Regions from separate parts of the Homo sapiens genome. Here regions 1 and 2 are each linked to region 3. The links are contacts of gene promoters, found by promoter capture Hi-C in human tissues and cell types (Jung and others, 2019). All regions are on one chromosome and are shown on one strand. Each heading gives the region's core, a stretch centred on a gene start or on the middle of the fragment in contact. The rest is flanking DNA. Distances are from core to core; before and after follow the strand shown. Region 1 overlaps IL2RB-AS1 (IL2RB and C1QTNF6 antisense RNA 1). Region 2 holds the start of TMPRSS6 (transmembrane serine protease 6). Region 3 holds the start of PVALB (parvalbumin).

Region 1 (3,632 bases), core at 679-3,178, 360 kb before region 3:
GGCCCAGTGCCCCGACTCTCCAGGCTTTATCAAGGTGCTAAGGCCCGGGTGGGCAGCTCCTCGTCTCAGAGCCCTCCTCCGGCCTGGTGCTGCCTTTACAAACACCTGCAGGAGAAGGGCCACGGAAGCCCCAGGCTTTAGAGCCCTCAGCAGGTCTGGGGAGCTAGAGCAAAGGAGGGACCTCAGGCCTTCCGTTTCTTCTTCCAGGGTGGGGTGGCCTGGTGTTCCCCTAGCCTTCCAAACCCAGGTGGCCTGCCCTTCTCCCCAGAGGGAGGCGGCCTCCGCCCATTGGTGCTCATGCAGACTCTGGGGCTGAGGTGCCCCGGGGGGTGATCTCTGGTGCTCACAGCCGAGGAGCCGTGGCTCCATGGCCAGATGACGGAAACAGGGTCTGACCAAGTGCCAGGAAGACCTGTGCTATAAACCACCCTGCCTGATCCTGCCCCTGCCTGACCCCGCCACGCCCTGCCGTCCAGCATGATTAAAGAATGCTGTCTCCTCTTGGCGATTCAGACTGGTTCTTTCTGCTCGGCTCCCTCTGCCCACTCTGCGTGCTCCCTGCCCACAAAGAAGCGAGCCCCCAGGTCACTCACGCAGCTGGCGCGCCTTGGAGCTAGTGGCACCAGCATAGAGTCAGCCGTGTCACTCTTTGGTTGTGACCTCGGGCAAGTCCCCATATCTCTGCGCCTCGGTTTCCTGTCTGTAAAATGGGGACAATGGTAATCTACCTCATGCGGTGGACATAAGGATCAGATGCCAGGTTGCTTGATGAGTGCCGCGTTCATGCTCAGCATCTGCTGAGCGCCAACTGTGTGGCGCAGAGCTGAGCACCTGTGCCGTTTATGCTCCAGTGAGGCACACGCAAGCCCCCCCACCTCCCGCCCCGGGGACCCTGTCGCATGTTTTGCGTTTAATTATGATGAGAGAACTGTTGGATCTTCTCTGTGGGAAAACACACACTACTACATTGTACAGTGGAGCATCTTGATGGATCTGGCTTTCTTTTTTTTTTGAGATGGAGTCTCTCTGTCACCCAGGTTGGAGTACAGTGGCGCAATCTTGGCTCTCTGCAACCGCTACCTCCCAGGTTCAAGTGATTCTCTTGCCTCAGCCTCCCGAGTAGCTGGGATTACAGGCGCCCACCACCACGCCCAGCTAATTTTTGTATTTTTAGTAGAGATGGGGGTTTCACCATGTTGGCCAGGCTGGTCTTGAACTCCTGACCTTGTGATCTGCCCACCTCGGCCTCACAAAGTGCCGGGATTACAGGCGTGAGCCACCGTGCCCGGCCTGGCTTTCTAATATGTCGTCAAGTTTGGACTCTCTAGGCTAGCCTGGTGGCTACTCACATAAGTATATTTAAAGTGACCGACGCTGATTTCCCAACAGACTTGACCGGGCATCCTGCTCTATCTGTGTTGTCCCTGGTGTGTTGCATGGCTTTTGGGCACCAGGTGGAAGAAGCATGCTATCGAGAACTGACCATACACCTGTGCCAGGATTCAGCCCAGCCCAGCAGCCCACCTTGCAGGGGCAGACAGGTCTCCGTTTCCTCGGAGGTCCCCTGACACTGAAGGGAGGCTTCCCACTGCACCTCAGGGTCATACAGCTCTTGCCAAAGAGGCTCCTCCCATGTCAGAGGCTACCCCGGGGAGCGATCTCCAGCGTGTTTCTGGGCCAGGCTCTATTTGTACACAATCGGCCTCACCAGCCTTGGGACAAAGGCTGTCCTGAGTGCCAGCCAGGAGCCTTTTGTCGTGTACAGCACAAGGATGAGCCATTTGCTGATCGCTGAGGCAGCAAAGCTTTGAAACTTCTTGCCAAGTGCCTGCAGGAGGATTGAAGCTTATCCTTTGTAAACTGAAGCCAAGTCCCCCAGACAGTTCCAGGCCACATTAGTTCAGGGAACAGAGGCCGGCTGTCTTTGTGTCATCCCATCTGACCCACTGCACACATTCCTCCACCCAGGGCTCAGATGTGGCCTCTGGACTGTCTAGGCCAGGTTTTTTTGCGCTAGGTCTGGGTTTCTGACTCAATGGCACCCGGATGGGTGCTAAGAGCCACTAGATCTTTGTGACAAGCTTCTCCCAATGGGCACGTTCTTGGCGGGGGTTGGTCAAAGGTCCTGGGAAACTGGAGGCCCCCAATCCTGCTGCCAGGTCTGTGGGGCACAGCGTCCCCCAGGAGATCTGCCATGCTTAGTACTGATGACCTCAGCAAGCTGGCTGAATGCCCATGTAATCACCTCTGGGGCAATCCCTTTAAGTTACATATTTTGAAAACGTTTTCCGCCTGAAACGTTAGGCAATGAGGAAGGGGAAGGAAAGGGTGGTCAAGAGGGGAAGCAGCCGTGGGAAATGAAAAATACCCCTGACAAGGAGTGTACCCCAGACAGGGCGACCTCACCCCCACCTTGCCATCGTTTTGTTGAGTGGCCCGGGGCAAGTGCAGGGAAGATTAAGGGGGAAAGGGTGATTAGATGGGAGCCTGAGTTAAAATCAGGGGCAGAGCTGGTGCAGGGATTTTAGCTTGATGGTGTCCCTGGTGACCTGCTGTCTGGATAGATGGGCTGGATCCATTTCATGGGCTAGGTTAGGTTGTGTCTGGAAGTGTTCAGCCTTCCTGGGGAGATGAGCGCAGGAGCTCCTCTGCCACATGGGAGTGTGGGGAAGGGAGTAGATAATTCTTATGTGGCGATCTGGGAAGGCTTCTTAGTGGAGGGGACATGTGGGAAGGGCCTTGGAGGGTGAATAGGAGTCTCAAAGGCACTTGACATGGGGCAAGGAGCTGATGAGAGGAAAGGGTTGCAGGCGGACCAATGTAGTCTATGCTCTGGGCAGTGGGAGAGACCAGTAGGTTGGATAGATGTCTGGAAAGGAGGCAAGGAGAGCAGAATGGGGTTTGAGACAGGAAAGGCCTGGAATGTCAGGCTAAGTCTAGGATTGACCTCTTTCTTAGGTGCTGGGGTGCCTTTAAGAGGCAGATCACTCTGCAGCCAGGTGGAGCACAGGCTGCAGAGGGTGAAGCTGGAGGCAGTGAGGGGGCCTGTGCCATGGTCCAGGGGAGGACATAGAACGCCTAGAAACTGGGTGAATCATGATGTCATCCTGGAGGGGGAGGCATGTCCCCAATTGACTTTGAAGTTGGTGAGAGATTCAACAGCAGAGAGGAGGCAGGAGGGCAGCTGGGGGTTGTTGGGGGGACGGGGTCCAGCTTGGATTAAGGGTCTACCAGGGTGTTTCTCCCACAAGGCTTTCGTTAGCCAGTGGGAAGCCAGCAGGCCGGGGTGCCAGGAGGTGGGCTCCTGTGGCAGCTCTGCCCAGGAGAGTCCCTTGTTTGGCTGGAGGACTGGAGGGTGCTGGGTAAATCGTTTAGCCTTTTTGGGCCCCATATTGTCCTTATCTGTAATATCAGATGCAAAAGCCCTTCTCTCTTACCCCACTGAGGACTTCAGGGTATCCAAGGCTGCAGGGGCATGGCTATTTTCAGAACCCCAAACCAGGACCCATGGAGAAGTGGCAGTGGGACAGAAAACGTGAAATTAGCAGCAGTTGTCCCAGAGAATACTAAGTGTACGGGACAGGGCTGGGGAAGCCTGAGAGAGGTGGTGAGTGCTCAGACGCCGGCATGTA
Region 2 (4,124 bases), core at 599-3,098, 290 kb before region 3:
ACCTCACACTCCACACACGTCTCACACTACACACACGCTTCACACTCCACACATGCTTCACACTACATACACCTTACACTACACACACACCTCACACTATGCACACACCTCACACTAAACACATGCCTCATATTCCACACATACTGTGAGCATGCACACACACACACACACAGCTGCACACACCTCTCATGCTCCATACACACCTCACACCATACGTACCTCAAAGACACACACACCTTACACTGCACATTCCCAGCACCCACACTGCACACACATGCACAGTCCATATGCCCACACAACACACTTCACACACCCCCCACCCCACACCATACAAACCTCACAGACACACCTCTCACACAAATCTTATACCCCACACACAATCCCTACGCTCCACACACACACACACACACACACACGCACATTCTACACATACATAATCTACACACACAAATTCCAGACTGTCTCTCTTACACACACACTCTGGGACCCATATGCCCACAGCACACAGCATCTCAGGCGTGCACCCCGCATTCTGGCCTCAGGATGTAGACTCGCTGAAAGTCAGCCTTGTCTGAGACAGACGCCCGCTGCCCTGCACGCACCCTAGAAAGCCCTGGCTCCCATCCGGCACTTCGGCACGCATATGGCTCAAACCCATCTCCACAGCAACGCTGTTCCATAGAACAACAACGCAGGTCACACTTGTGACTTAACCTGTCTAATATCCACATGCAACAAGGGGTGTGGTGGCCCGCGCCTGTAATCCCAGCTACTTGGGAGGCTGAAGCAGGAGGATCATGTGGGCCCAGGAGCTCCAGACCAGCCTGGCAACCTAATGAGACCCTGTCTCTGAAAAAAAAAAAAACAAGAGAGCCAGAAGAAAATTGCTTTTAATAATACATTTTATTTATCCCATGATCACCAGTGTTATTTCAACATAAAATCAATATAAAAATTGTTATCGCGTTGGTTGACATCCTGTTTGCACTTGGCCTTGGAAACCTGGTGTGCGTCTCCCCCGTGCAGCTTTTCTCAGTTCAGACTGACTCAAGAGCCACGGGTGACCAGCGGCTACCGTCATGGACAGCACAGCGCTACGGAACCAGGTAGGAATTCATGCTGCGTGCGGTCGCTCATGCCTGTAATCCTAGCGTTTTGGGAGGTCGAGGTGGGTGGAATCACTTGAGGTCAGGAGTTCGAGACCAGCCTGGCTAACATGGTGAAACCCCATCTCTTCTAAAATTATGAAAATTAGCCGGGCATGGTGGTGGGCGCTGTAATCCCAGCTACCTGGGAGGCTGAGGCAGGAGAATTGCTTGAACCCGGGAGGCGGAGGTTGCAGTGAGCCGAAATCACACCACTGCACTCTAGCCTGGGTGACGGAGTGAGACTCCATCTTAAAAAAAAAAAAAAAAAAAAAAAAGAACGAGGTAGGAATTCAAATAATTCCCAGCTAAACAGAAAATAGCATCAAACCCCACCCCTGCCTCCCCTTTCTCCTCTCCAGTCCCCAGAGTATATGGGCCCAGCCTCCTTTTCTCTCTCTCAGGCCAGCAGCTCCTTTAGTCTCGCCTGTCCAGGTAAGCACCTGGACTCACCCTTGTGAGCCCCTGCACTCACCTGCACCGGCCTCTGCACAGTCCCCAGTCCTTGGCTGTCCCTACCTCATGCTCTCGGGGACCAGGGGCTGTAACCAGGCAGGCATGTCACCAGGCAACGGGCCTCGGGGGAGAGCTCAGATCTCCCGCACCTGCCTGCCAGCCTCTGGGGTGCCCATGCGGGGGTGGGGGAAGATGGGGCGGGGCAGGCACTGCCTTCTCCTACCTCCTGCCTGTTTACCTGTACTTAGTCACAGTGCTGTCCAGGACCCAGCAGGAGGAGTTCCATGGAGCCTGAGGCCACAGGCCACAGGGGACAAGGGCCAGACACCCTGGTCATGGCTCTAGGCCATTGATCCAGCCTGGGCTGGCTGGGTGGGGGTGGGGAGGCCTTGGCCTGGACAAACAGAGGCTCCTGAGGCCTGTGTGCAGGCCCGGCACCTATCTGCCGCTCCCAAAGGTAAGCGGGGGCCTCCAGGACAGGGGACCGGGATCTATAAATGACCTAGTGACAGTGTCCACCCTAAGAGCTGGGCCTGGCTCCCTGCAGCCTGAGCCACCTACCCTGCTCCGAGGCCAGGCCTGCAGGGCCTCATCGGCCAGAGGGTGATCAGTGAGCAGAAGGTGAGGGGCCCACAGAGCTGGGGAGGGGAGGGACCACGCAGGGTGACACCAGGTGTGTGGACAGGCACAGCATCAGTGCTGGGTGGTTGGTGGCCTGGGATTCAGGTGGCAGGGACAGGAGGAAGGGAGAGGCCACCCTACCCCTGCCTCGCAGGACTGGACATGCTGCCCCCTCCACACCCGGTACCCCACCTGGGCCTTCTGGTGTAGGAGACAGGCCCGGAGCCCCACATTGCACCTATGTACTGACTTAAGCCCAGGACCCTGGGCTCACAGGCTCAGAGTTGGCATGTATGTGTATGTGTGTTCGTGTGTGTGTCTGTGTAGGAAGGGCGTGCATCTATGAATTTTTGTGTCATGAATAGATGTGCGTATATCCCTCCGCGTGTCTCCATCTGTGTACATCTGTGGGTCTGTGAGTGTGTTTATATGTGTGGAAGGGACCCCCACCCAGTCCCCCACACTCTCAGGACTCTAGGGCCTAATGGTTTCACTGAAAGATGCCCCTATGGCCCTAGCCCAGAGTCCCTGCTCTGCTCTGCTCTGCCCTGGCTGAGGGACCTCGGGTAAGTCATGTTACCTCTCTCTACCTCAGTTTCCCCAGCCATTAAATAGAGTCAGCAAAGTAGGCACCCCAGGCTGTTGGAGGCTGCAGTGGAGTTTGCAGCACTGCCCAGCACAGGGCTGGCACATGGTAGGAGTTCATACGCAGTGGTTGAATCCGGATCTGCATTGCTGGGGGAGTCGCGGCCCCGCCCCAAGGAGCTCAGCCTCCAGCAGGCAGACCCGAGACCCTCCAATGGCCAGAAGGGCAGGAGGGAGTGAGGAGCAGGTGCCAGGGTGGGGTCCATGGTGCTCAGAGCTGGGGGACTGCTTCAGGCCCCTGTGGCAATTGGAGCACAGTCCCCGCTTCCAGGAGTTCAATGTGAGGGGCAAAGAGAGAGTGCCCACAGGTAAGCTGCACATCGCGAGGGGCAGCCGCCCCTTCTAGGGCACTCTGGGAGAGCTGCGAAGAGGTGAGGTCTGAACTGAGGTGACAGGGGCTGCATAAGAGCTGGCCAGGTTGGGAGGTGGGGGCCCAGGCAGAAGGAAGAGTGTGGGGACGCCTGGCCGTGAACAAGCACTGACAGGGCTCAAGGTCCACGAGGGCTCTTGGTGCCGGCTGGCTGCTCTTAATCCATAAATGTTTGCTACCATCCCATTGTTAAAATTTCTCACCAATGGAAGTCCAGTGTCCTTGGGGTGCGACGGGGAAAAGAGAGGGTGGGAAAAAAGGAGGCAGGAGAAGTTGGCCAGGCCACATATGCACACAGCACCTTGGACTTCTGTAGGGAGGAAGGAGCTGGGACCTTGTCATTCATTCATTTAACAATTACTGAGTGTCCGCTGAGTACCAGACTCTGCTCTCATGCAGCTTACAGACAGGGAGGAGGCAGATAAATGACATATTTGCATATCAGGCAATTTAGGCCTCTGTAATTGCTATAAAGAAAAATGCAGGAGAGACGGGAGTGCCCAGGGAAGGCCTCTCTGGAGAGGTGACATCTGACCCTTTGGAGGAGGTAAAGGAGGGAGCCACGAGGCCAGCAGAAAGGAAAACATCCCAGGCCCAGCAAGGAGCAAACCTCCCATTCAGCAAAGAGGACAGGAAAACTGAGACCCTGGGTCTTTAGGGACTGTGTTCTAGGTGGATGGAAGCCGTGCGAGGCTTGTGGGCAGGGCACATGGTGACAACACGCAGTGGCCATTGTGTGAGAACTCACTGGGTAGGGGGGTGGGTGATTGGCTATTGCAGGAGTCGAGGTGACAGATGACGGTGGCCTGGATGATGGTGGGAGTCATGGGGGGCCAAGAAGGGGCTGGCTTTGGGGGGCATTTGGAAGGTAGGGCCACAGGCTTTTC
Region 3 (4,108 bases), core at 1,092-3,591:
TGGAAGGGAGAGCTACATCTCCCCTGTCCGTAGTGACCCGGGGAGGGGGGTGCGGTGGGGGTGCTGGAGGCAGGGCAGCTGTGGAATGTAGGGCTGAGAGCATGCATTCCTGCTTCTCCACCCAGACTCCTGGTGTGGCCTGGGGCAAACTCCCCCCACCCACCGCCCCCCGTGGCTGGGCCTCAGATTCCCCAGCCTTAGAACGAGAGGGCTGGAGTCAGACATCTGTGGACTCTGGTGATGCCATCAGAGAGGACCCAGAGGGCAGAGGAGGACTACCCAGGGCTGATGGGCTGACCTAATGACATTGATGCTCTGGCTGGGAGGGCTCAGTCCCGGAGGGGGTGTCAAGTTGATAGGAGAACTCAGCAGCAGGGAGAGATGGAGGAAGGAGATGGAAGAAGAGTGGGCCCCTGTTGAGGCTGCAGCCTTTGCCACAGGGTAGCTGCTTAGGGGCTCACCAGGAGCCAGTGTGTGGCTGAGATGTATGGGACCTGATAGAGCTGGGTCCCAGGCACCAGGGAGGATCACCCAGAGAGTCACTGAACTCCACACGAGTGAGTCCAGGGGTGTACCCTGCTCTGCTATTGCTTTACCATGTGTCCTTAGACCATTCACGGACTCTGTGCCTCCGTTTCTCCACTGGTATAGCTGAAGCGTCCTTCAGCTGGGGAAATCCATTCTCCAACTAGGCTCCTGGAGTGAGCTGAGCCTGGGAGTTGAAATGATAGCATAGGAGCCTGGCATATCTGAGTCAGCAGCCCAGCTGGGGACAAGGTGCAGAGGTGACGGCAGTAGCAGCAGGGTCCAGGGCAGCTGAGGGGTCCTGGGAAGTCCTGGAGCTGAGAGGCATCAGGTCAGGAGCTGCATCCTTGGTGCCTTGGAAGCCATCTGGCGGGCTGTGGCTTGAAGGAGCTGACTCACAGGGAGGGGGCAGCTGGAGCCAGCAGAGGTATCCTAAGGTTTCCAGGAAGGGCAGCCATCCAGGGCTGAGCTGCAGGAGACAATGTTGACAGCGATGTCAGGGAACTTGAGTTACTGGGCAGCTGGACAGCTGCTCTCCCTGGTCCCCACCACCCAGGGCCACCACAGCCCAAGGCCCTGCCTACCTGCCAATACCTTAAGTTGCAGTCCCCAGGTCCCACTACATGGGACCACTGACGTCATCAACACATCAGAAGGAGACAGAAGCCCAGAGAAGGTCACAACCCAAGGTCACACTGGGACTTAGTGCAGCCCAGGATCTAGAACCCAGGCCTCCTGACTCCCTGTCCAGCGCTCACACACTCTAGAAGCAGCTGGTTGCAGCTTGAAACCTTGGGAACCATGGGGAAGAACACAACGGGTCTCTGGCTGCATACAGATAGGCACCGTGACATTTTTCCAGAGGTGAAGTTCAGACCCCTACACCTGCTTAGGTTGTCTAGAAAGTGTGGTCTGAAGGTGCTACCCTTCTTCCAAACACATATGGGGCTTTCTGGGAGGGAGCATAGCAATTCCAAGCGGACTCTCCCACCCTACTCTGCCCAAAAAAGGTTTATAGGAGTAGGGGGAGTCTGGACCCATGATGCCAGGACCCAGGAGACCAGGAAAGCAAGTAGTTAGTAGAGATCTGAGAAGTGTTCTTCGAAAAATCAAGCCAGCAAAAAAATAAAAAATAAAAGTAAAACATCAAATCAGGTTTTAGAATATGCATCCCTGGCCAGATGTGGGATGGGGCACCCGAAGTGGGCCCCAGCAGCTCCTGCCTGTCCCTGTCCCTGTCCCTGCCACCTCCTCCCTGCGTCGGGTGGGTCAGGTTTCAGGACCTCAGCGCTCAGATTTTGCAGCATAAATTTGCATCCAGGACAGACCAGAGCAGAGGCTGAGGTAGGAGTGGAGAGAGAAAGGGAGCAGGGCCTAGGAGGTCCTGAGGTGCAGGCTGGCCGCTGAAGGTTCAGGATCTTCCCCCACGCGGCAGGACATCCGCCAAGGTTCCCAGATCTGAGACGGCGCACCTCCTGCGTGTCCTTGACGGCAGGTGGACTTTCCAGACCCAGCTGGTGACGCCAGTGCCCCCTAAATCCCAGAGGTGGCCCCTTCCCTCGTGCCCTGGCCGCAGCCCCTGGGATCCCGCGGACCCCTGGCCTGGCGGTGCAGGAGTGGTAGCAGGTCCGCGCGCCTTCTTGCCGGCGGCCGGCGCTGCTCAGCGGCGCGGCTGGACTGAGCCGCTCCCGCTGCGCTCAGAGTCCGGGCCCCTGGCGCCATGCCAGGCCCGGCGGGCGTGCGCCCGGCGCGCAGCACTGCAGCGCTGGTCATATGAGCAGAAATGATGAGAAAAGCACTTTTTAATCTTTTCGCACTTGCTCTGCCCGCTCAAACAGTTGCAGGATGTCGATGACAGACTTGCTGAACGCTGAGGACATCAAGAAGGCGGTGGGAGCCTTTAGCGGTGAGCAAGCGCGCTCCCCTCCCCATCCCTCTCCCCTCGTCCACCGCCCGCGCCCCTGCACTCCGCCGGCCCCGCAGCCGGCGGATCCTCCCCAGCGCGCTTCTGCCCACACTTCCCGCTGGGCGCCGGCGAGGTCGGGGCGGGGGCGTCCTTGGCAGTTCCCAAACTCTGTCCGGGCGAGGCTTGGCGCGGGGAGCGGGCGGGGAAGAGGGCGCCCCGCCTAAGTTACAGAAACTTGAGGGTGCTGAAGGCCCGGTGGCTGGGAGGACTCAGGGTCCGGGACCAAGGGCGAAGACCAGGGTCGGAGGAGAGACCTCCAGGGTCCTTGTACGAGCTCTCTGGACGTCCTCTTTAAGGCACTTAGAGGGGACTGCAGGGGGCATCCTCCTCTCCAAGAGACCCCTTTCCTGGACCCTCATTCTGGACAGGACTTTTCCCGCCAGGCGGTAGCCTTTGTTGGCCCCCTGACTGTCCTAGTTCCTTTACTGAGATTCAGCAACGGACCTGCGGGCGAGGTGACCTTCTGGAGCCGGCGCACAGCTCTGCCTAAGCCCGCACGGGGCATCCTCAGTGCCTCAAACCTCCAGCCTCCTTAGGCGGGCAGGGGAGGGGAACTGGCAGTCTCACCTCTCCCAGCTGCCCGGGACTTCAGCGCTAAGCTGCCCGCCTTCCTCCTCCCCTGTCCTCCAGATGGGGAAATCAGGGAACTGTCTTGGAGAGGACAAGACATTTGCCCAAGGTCACCTAGCTGGGCAGAAGGGGTATTAGAACTGGGTTGCCCAGCCTAGTGTCGGAGGTGGACAGGGCAACTTTCCTTGTCTCTAGCCCTGTGCTGAGGGGAAGAGAACATGACTTCAACAGCCATTCCCTACACACACACACACACACACACACACACAAAATACATGATCTAACATTGTACCCTTCCCCAGGTGTTCTAAAACAGGACCCCAAGATACAGAAAATTGCAGGTAGAAAAGGACCCCCATTTCCTTTCTGCTTTGCACCCCCTCCCCTGGGCACAAGAACCTCTCTGGGAAGCCACCCTCCCAGGGTCCTGGGATAACCCTCTCCCTTCACCTCAAGCCCATGTGGGAAGAAACTTAACTGGGTGTTTCTCGGGAGCCTCCTAACACCCCCTTCCCACTGCCTCCGAAGTGGATTTCTGCGCAGAGCCAGGACTTCCGGGTTTGCCCCTCCTCCTCCCACTGTATGACCTTGAGGGAAACCTGTCCTTTCTATGTCAATTTTCTGGCAACAAAGTCTGTGGCCAAGAAAGAAGGTCAACCCTCCTCCCCCTAACCCCAGGACCATGTTCATGCCCCCTTCAATTCCCCAGCCCACTCCCAACCAGCTGGCACTCAAAAGTCTTCCTGGGCACAAGGTTCTCAGAAGAACAAAAGCCTTTGGTTCTTAGGTGCTGCTCCCATCATCAGCAATGGGTGCAGTGGAGGTGGGGCGTGGGGGCGGGCTTGAGAGCCAGGGAGGTCTGGGTTTGAGCACACCTCTTCCACTCCCAGCCTTGTGACCTTGGACAGGTTATCCTCCCTTGCCCGGGCTCCCTCAGCCCTCCAATGGAGGTGGGTACCTCTCATTCCCCATGACTGGCATGTGGGAATCCATCAACAAATGCCTTGATGCCCCCCATTCTCCCAGGCTTCCCTACCAGCCTTTCTG

Evidence for each region. The method cuts DNA at HindIII sites, captures the fragments that hold promoters and counts their contacts. A contact is called where the count stands out against the background at its distance.
Region 1: a fragment that was not itself captured here is called in contact with the fragment with the promoter of PVALB in region 3 in 1 of the 25 tissues and cell types used here (H1 embryonic stem cells).
Region 2: the fragment with the promoter of TMPRSS6 here is called in contact with the fragment with the promoter of PVALB in region 3 in 2 of the 25 tissues and cell types used here (adrenal gland and lymphoblastoid cells).

What each region holds. Positions count from the first base shown.
Region 1 is chr22:37,177,040-37,180,671 of GRCh38, reverse strand. All of the region lies in intron 1 of IL2RB-AS1 (IL2RB and C1QTNF6 antisense RNA 1), which reads right to left. C1QTNF6 (C1q and TNF related 6) reads left to right here. Exons shown (of 3, transcript NM_031910.4): 3 at 1-506. Among named protein-coding and RNA genes, the nearest start is that of C1QTNF6, 9.4 kb to the left of the region's middle. RefSeq lists enhancers at 1-185, 186-1,046. The HindIII fragment of the contact is 3,359 bases long and covers 249-3,607 here.
Region 2 is chr22:37,107,437-37,111,560 of GRCh38, reverse strand. TMPRSS6 (transmembrane serine protease 6) reads left to right here and starts at 1,848. Exons shown (of 18, transcript NM_001374504.1): 1 at 1,848-2,058. RefSeq lists an enhancer at 3,117-3,618. The HindIII fragment of the contact is 35,568 bases long and covers 1-4,124 here.
Region 3 is chr22:36,815,268-36,819,375 of GRCh38, reverse strand. PVALB (parvalbumin) reads left to right here and starts at 2,341. Exons shown (of 4, transcript NM_001315532.2): 1 at 2,341-2,431. The coding sequence starts at 2,371. The HindIII fragment of the contact is 41,984 bases long and covers 1-4,108 here.